2 separate regions of the Homo sapiens genome follow, and region 1 is linked to region 2. The links are contacts of gene promoters, found by promoter capture Hi-C in blood cells and fetal thymus (Javierre and others, 2016). All regions are on one chromosome and are shown on one strand. The core of a region is centred on a gene start or on the middle of the fragment in contact, and the rest is flanking DNA. Distances in the headings are between cores, read along the strand shown.

Region 1 (3,132 bases), core at 578-3,077, 1.7 Mb before region 2:
TGTGCGTATGTTTTTAAATTTAACCTAAAATTTCACATTCTTCTTACCTTCTGAACTCAAAAATCTACACACAGACAAATAAGCCGCGAATTTTTTTTCTTGGGAAATCCTTTCAAGATGTCCAAGGTGATGGATGTTTAATTATTTTTTTTATGAATGAAGAGTGTGCTATGCAAATGAGGGCGATTCACAAAAAGAGACAGAACATGGCTGCCACTTCTGCTTCTACACTGCACTGACACTGCAGCAATGTACCTCCTTCTACACCCGCTCAGCAGAAGCGTGTGTTTTGGGGTGGGGAGGGAGTAAGGGAGGAGGAAATGTTGTTTGGCCTTTCTCTAGCTATTTTACGTTAAACAGGACTCGGTACAGACTTTAAAAAGTTATTTCAAAAAGGTCTGACTTTAGTAATGCACTGTATTTAAAGGAATGCATCCAAATGACTAAGTCCTAACTCACTTAACTCTTTCCAACCCTCCGAAGATAAACAAAAGTTGAACTTAATTACAAGAAAACGGATGCTAATATTCTGCTTGGAATTAAATCCCTTCTCAATAGAAAAGTGTTGCCAACCATTATTTCTCCACGCAGCTGTCACGTTAAAGCAAAACATTTAAAAGACGAAGTATTTCGTTTGGAAAGCAAGGAGAAAGCCCAAATAAGCTAAAACTTAAACCGGAATGCTCTAAAAGTTAATGAAATCACCAACATATTCAGCAATGTAAATTCGGTTACATCAACGTAAATCATGTGTTTTCACATAGCTGAAAGGTAAAAATTAGCATTCAAAATTCTTCTCCGTTCCTGAAGACACGTCCAATATTCACAAAGGTAAACTCTAGCTCAACATCGCCCACACTCCAGGTGTCCTTAATCCTATTAAATTCTAAAAATGTTTCCCTAACCCTATTTTTTACAAGAATCTTACAGGTCATAAGTTTAAAAGGGGGAGGGGGGAGAGGGTGAAGGCTTAATCGGTATTTAAGAGTCACTGACTCATCGAATTAAGATTCAAGAGCAGTTTGCTGCAGGAGGTGCTCCCACACATTAGTTTCCAAGTGAAACAGCTATAAAGGAAGTAGGATGGATACTGAAGGTATGGTGACTGGTATGTGAGTGAAAAAGGACGGGACAGGGGTCTCACAGGCAAAGGGGTAGTTTCTACTCCACTTCCATCCATCCACATTATTCCCTCTCATAGACGTACAATTGCCATCCTCTCCCAACACTTAATCCCCTACCCCAAAAGAAAGCAGCTAAATGTGGGAGGATGGGGAGGGGTGCTGCCACTAAAAATGGCTAAAGAAATCAGCTATCTCCAGAAGATGCACCGAACTCTCCAGGGTCGCAAGCTTTCCGGCACCCAAGTTTCGGATGGGTCTGGGGGAGAGCCGAGGGCGGATAGGGGGAGGGGGATTAGCAATCGAGATCAATGAGGCGCTTACTCGTTGTCAGAAGTCGCCGTCTCCTCGCTCATCTTTCCCTCACCGTGATCCGATCTGGAGATGGAGGAGCAACAGCAGGCGGGGGAGCAACAGCAGCACCGAGGGGCAGGAGGCAGCGGCGGCCGGGGGGGCGCGGGGGCAGCGGCACAGGGGCCTCACCATGGTGGATGCCTCACCCAGAACGGTACCCCCCCAGCCGGGAACCCCGGCCACCCCCGCAGGGGGGTGGCGGCAGCAACCTCCGCCGTGGCGACCCCAGCCTCTTCCCCCGCCTCAGTGCCCAGCCAAGGGATCCGAGGAGGCCCGGTGGAAAGGGAAAAAGAGAGGGGCTGCAAAGGCTGACTGGAGAGCTGCTCCTCCAGCCACTGGGGTGGAGCGCAGCGGGGTCCGGCCAGGAAGGAGTCGGCGGGCGGAGAACCCGGGAGCAGAGGCGGCGCTTCCCTCAGGGATGCGGCGAGGAGGAAGCAGAGCTCCGCTCGGTGGGGGCCGGCGGGGGGGTGCCGAGCCCAGGCTCCGGGCAGCGGCGGCGCGGTCCTGCCGGAGCCCACCCCACCATCTCCCGCCTCGCCGCCGGCTGCCCCTCAACCCCCGGCGGCGTCTGGGTCGGTCCTCAGGCGCCGGCAGAGCAGGGCTAGGGGCCCCGCGGCGGCGGATTCCTCCAGACACGCTCCAGCCGGGACTCCTCCTCAGGGGGGTGGAGGGGGCGGCGGGGAGCGTGTGAGGCGAGGGGCAGGCAAACCGATCGTTCCCACCCGGCCGGAGAAGAGCGGGCGGGCCCGGGTCCGGGGGGCAGGATCCCGAGAAGCGGCGGGAGAGGACAAGAGCGGCTGCAGGTTCCCCGCCAGCCAGTGCCCACCAGCAGCTCAGCGGGCCAGCTCCTCACGCCCGAGAGAGGGGAGCCGCGAGGGGGGCGGCGGAAGCGCTCACGCCGCCCGCTCCTTCCGCCGCCGCAGCCGCTGCCCGAACCGGGGGCGCCCGCGAGAGAAGGAGGCGAAGTAGTCCCTCGCGACTTCTCCCGGCCGCCCGCTTTCCCCGGAGGCCAGAGCGGGCGCGGGGTGGGGCTGCCGAGCGGGGTGCCCAGGCTGTGAGGGTGTGTGGGTAGGACTAAAAGCCGCGGCCTCCGGGCGAATCACTGCAACTCGAAGTCATGTGCAGCATAGCAAGTTTCAGGAAAGTAGTTCCCTCCTCCCTTCATTTCCCAAATCGTTGTCGAGCCACTTAGCGGAGAAAGGGGGAGGGAGGCGGAGGGATATCCTCCCTGCACCGTGCTCGGTGTGCGTGCGCGCGCTCCAAACTCTTGGCACGCCGCGAAAGGGGGCGGGGGTGGGAGCTGCGAGGGGAGCTGCTAGGGAGGTTGCATTGTTGTGGCGCGTTACTCCCCGTTACTCTGCTTGGAATATCCGGGTTGCTTGAACGAAGAGGCTAGAAAGACAGTGTGCTCAGAGGGGAAATCTGGAGGCTACTCTCTTCTGCCGTGTGTGTGTGTGTGTGTGTGTGTGTGTGTGTGTGTGTGTGTGTGTTTTCTTTGCAGAGCAAAGAATGGAACTGGCATGAGTTCATCTTTAGTTAGTGGGGGTTAGAAGCAGGGACTGCAAAGAGAGCTCCTCCTGCTGTCCCCCTGGTTGCACTGCTGCAGTCCCCTAGCTGCATGCACGAAGTGTATGTGTGTGTGTGTGTGTGTGTGTGT
Region 2 (3,552 bases), core at 362-2,861:
AGGGTATATGAGAATTCTCTGTAATATTTCTGCAACTTTTCTGCAAGCTTAAAATTATCCCAAAAACTCTCCCAAAAGTAACAAATAATCAAATATATATGTAGTGTTTGGGCAGGAAATTATAATGTAAAATATAACCTTATAAGTAACAGCTGATTGGACCAGGGGCTTCTAAGAATGTCCACAAGAAAGATTAAAAAATGTCAATCAATAAATATGTCCTCAGCAAGTACTTCAAATGTAGTATGTCCTATGTTTCAGGTGCCAAAGGGCCCATTACAGAAAGTCTTCAAATAACGTTATTTTGTTCAACATTATTTTGTTATAAAGTTGATGAGTATTTTTAAAAATTGTTTCCTGGCTGGGGCCACTGTCTGTGTGGAGTTTGCATGTTCTCCTGACGTCTGCGTGAACTTTCTCCCAGTACTCTGGTTTCCTTCCACATCTCAATGATGTACGTGTCTGCAGAACTGGCATGTCTAAATAGCCCCAGTGTGAGTGAGTATGGGAGTGTGTGTGAGCGTGTCCCGTGCTGGGATGGCTTCATACCTTGCAGCCTGAGCTGCCAGAGGCCACTCAGAATCCTAAACTGGAATAAGCGGGTTGGTAAATAAATGAATGAATAAGTGAATAAATGAATGAATACAAATTACTGTAAAATAAAAATTCATAAATCTATGATAATCATACAAACGCATGACAATAAAGATGCAGTACACAAGTGCTCAGCAAGCTCACCACATTTGTTATTGTTTGCTTTTTGTTTTTTGTTTTTAGAGACAGAGTCTAACTGTTGTGGCTCAGGCTGGACTGCAGTGGCACGTTCCTAACTCACTGCAGCCTCAAACTCCCAGGCTTAAGCAATCTTCTCACCTTAGCATCCTGAGTTGCTGGAACTACAAGCATGTACCACCACACCTGGCTAATTTTTAAATTTTTTTGAAGAGACAGGGTCTCGCTCTGTTGAACAGGCTATTGTTTGCTTTTGAATACATGGTGGTAAGAGGTGCTTCTCACAAATTTCACTTTGCAAACACATACTCTTAGATTTAATCCACCACCACTATGACCACCATCACTCACTGATTCACCAAAAATTGGGTAAATAATTATCTTACTTGTTTAGGCTCACATTAATTTCAATGTTTAATATTAGATGTGTTTTGGGTCTTTATTTTATTTTTTATGGTTTTTTTGAGACGGAGTGTTGCTCTGTCACCCAGGCTGGAGTGCAGTGGCGCCATCTCAGCTCACTGCAAGCTCTGCCTCCCAGGTTCATGCCATTCTCCTGCCTCAGTCTCCTGAGTAGCTGGGACTACAGGCGCCCGCCACCGTGCCCAGCTAATTTTCTGTATTTTTAGTAGAGACGGGGTTTCACTGTGTTAGCCAGGATGGTCTCGATCTCCTGACCTCGTGATCTGCCCGCCTCAGCCTCCCAAAGTGCCGGGATTACAGGCTTGAGCCACAGTGCCCAGCCTTGGGTCTTTATTTAGAAGTTTGGTGATGTTATTATGACCAGAAATATGCTATAGGAACTTAATTCTTGTTTATAACAATTAGCATATGGTAAAATTGCTCTCATTATACATTGTTTCACTTAAAGTTGCAGTCTCCAAAGCCCTACCGAAGACATTAAATGATGACTTACTGTATGGTAAAACTGTAGAAACGAAAATAGAATGAGGGTGAATTTTGGAGTTGTAAGATATTACAGATCACAAAGTCCTACTCCTTCATTTTAAAGTGAAGGATTCTGAGACCACGTAAAACACAGTGACTTGAAAAAACATAATTTTGTAACTTCAGTCAAAACAAGCCATGAAGAAGTGAGGCTACCCCAGAAGTCACAGTAAGAGGAAAAATTAAGCTGGAGAAAAAATTAAGCTACATCTTCACCTCTCAGCATTTACTAAAATAAATTTCAGCCAGAAAGATTTAAAAATTAAGAATAAAAAACAAAGCCATAAAGAATCTAAAAGAAAATTTAGGTGAAATATTTTTTTCTTTCATATATTAGGACAGAAAAGAACTTCCTAAGTATAAAGGCAAAAATGTCAGAAAAAAAAAGCATACATTTAAAAGTTAACCATATCAAAAGCAGAACAATATTTAAAATCAAACAACTGAGAAAATTTATGCAACAAATATGACATATATAGGACCAGCATCCTGAACATATGCAGATCAATAAGTAATAAATCAATAAACAATAACAACAGACATGCCAACAGAAAATTAGGCAAAGGATACCAAACAGGTAATTCAAAGGAAAATTAAGTGGTCAAAAAAATTTGGAAAAAGGTACAACCTATAATAATTTTTAAAATGCTAACTACAAGATGTCATTCTTGATCGAACATATTAAAGATTAAATAATGACTCTTCTCAATACTGGAAAAGTTGCAGAGACAGAGACTCTCACGCTCTGCTAGTAAAAGGACTAGTACAATTTTTTTAAATTTGTCAGTATACATCAAAATCCTTGAAAACATAATTATGCTTTGATTTGAATTAGCTAGTGATTGTCTAAGTGTGGCTGTGGACTTGGAGTCCCTGAGACCCTCTCACAGGTCTACAGGGTCAACACGACTATTTTTATAAAAATAGCAAGATAGTATTTTCCTTTTGCGCTGTATTCACATTTGGACTTATGGTACAAAAACAATGGTGAGTAAAACTGCCAGCTCCTGAGCATAAAACAAGGCACAAATCATAGGCATCATAACTGTACTAGTAGTCACTGTATTCACTGCCACACACGTGCAGGAAAAACAAAACAAAACAAGACTTTCACTAAAGAATATTCTCTTATTAATTGCATTAAATCTCAACCCTTGAATACACAACCTTTTAACATTCTGTATGACTAGAGTAAATACAAAGCACATATACTTCATATCAAAGTATGATGGTTGCCTCCCAGGAAAGCACTTGTATGACTGTTTGAGAGCTGAACTAGCTACTTTTTCTAGGGAACACCATTTTTACTTGAATTAATGATAACAAAGTATATTATTCAGATTTAAGTATCTGGCAGACACTTTCTCAAAAATAAACAATGTGAGCCTGTCATTTCAAGGAAAACAACTAATAGCATTTGTTGCCAATGATAAAATTTGAGCTTTCAAGGGAAAATTCAAATACTGGAATGCTCATATCCATCACCACAAGCTTGACAGCTTCAAATCTTACAGACTTCTGATGAGATTAGAGATGATATTAACAAATGTAATTTTTTGATATTGTATAATGAAAGGTGACATTTGTAAGATCTGCACAACTCACAAGCAACATTTTACAAAGGAATAATGCACGATGATAACAAATCAGGCATGGGTAAAAGATCCATTCAAGTTCAAAATAGGCCAATGGATTGTAATGCAACAAGGTAACAATCACCTTGATGTGGTGATTCACCCACCTCAGCCTCAGGAGTAGCTGAGTAGCTGGGTCTAAAGGCACATGCCACCACACCCAGCTAATTTTTTGGATTTTTATTAGAGACGGGGTTTTGCTACGTTGCCCAGTCTGATCTGGAACTCCTGGCCTCAA

What was found. The method cuts DNA at HindIII sites, captures the fragments that hold promoters and counts their contacts. A CHiCAGO score of 5 or more calls a contact.
Region 1: a contact is called between the fragment with the promoter of SPRED1 here and a fragment that was not itself captured in region 2, in 1 of 17 cell types (total B cells). The highest score is 5.1, in total B cells.

The regions. Positions count from the first base shown.
Region 1 is chr15:38,251,531-38,254,662 of GRCh38, reverse strand. It overlaps SPRED1 (sprouty related EVH1 domain containing 1), which reads right to left and starts at 1,827. Exons shown (of 7, transcript NM_152594.3): 1 at 1,446-1,827. The coding sequence starts at 1,477. RefSeq lists silencers at 1,618-1,667, 1,678-1,737, 1,918-2,017, 2,118-2,167, 2,178-2,477 and 1 more. The HindIII fragment of the contact is 4,356 bases long and covers 1,355-3,132 here.
Region 2 is chr15:36,581,660-36,585,211 of GRCh38, reverse strand. The region is part of intron 1 of CDIN1 (CDAN1 interacting nuclease 1); the gene reads right to left. Among named protein-coding and RNA genes, the nearest start is that of CDIN1, 3.8 kb to the right of the region's middle. The HindIII fragment of the contact is 3,124 bases long and covers 50-3,173 here.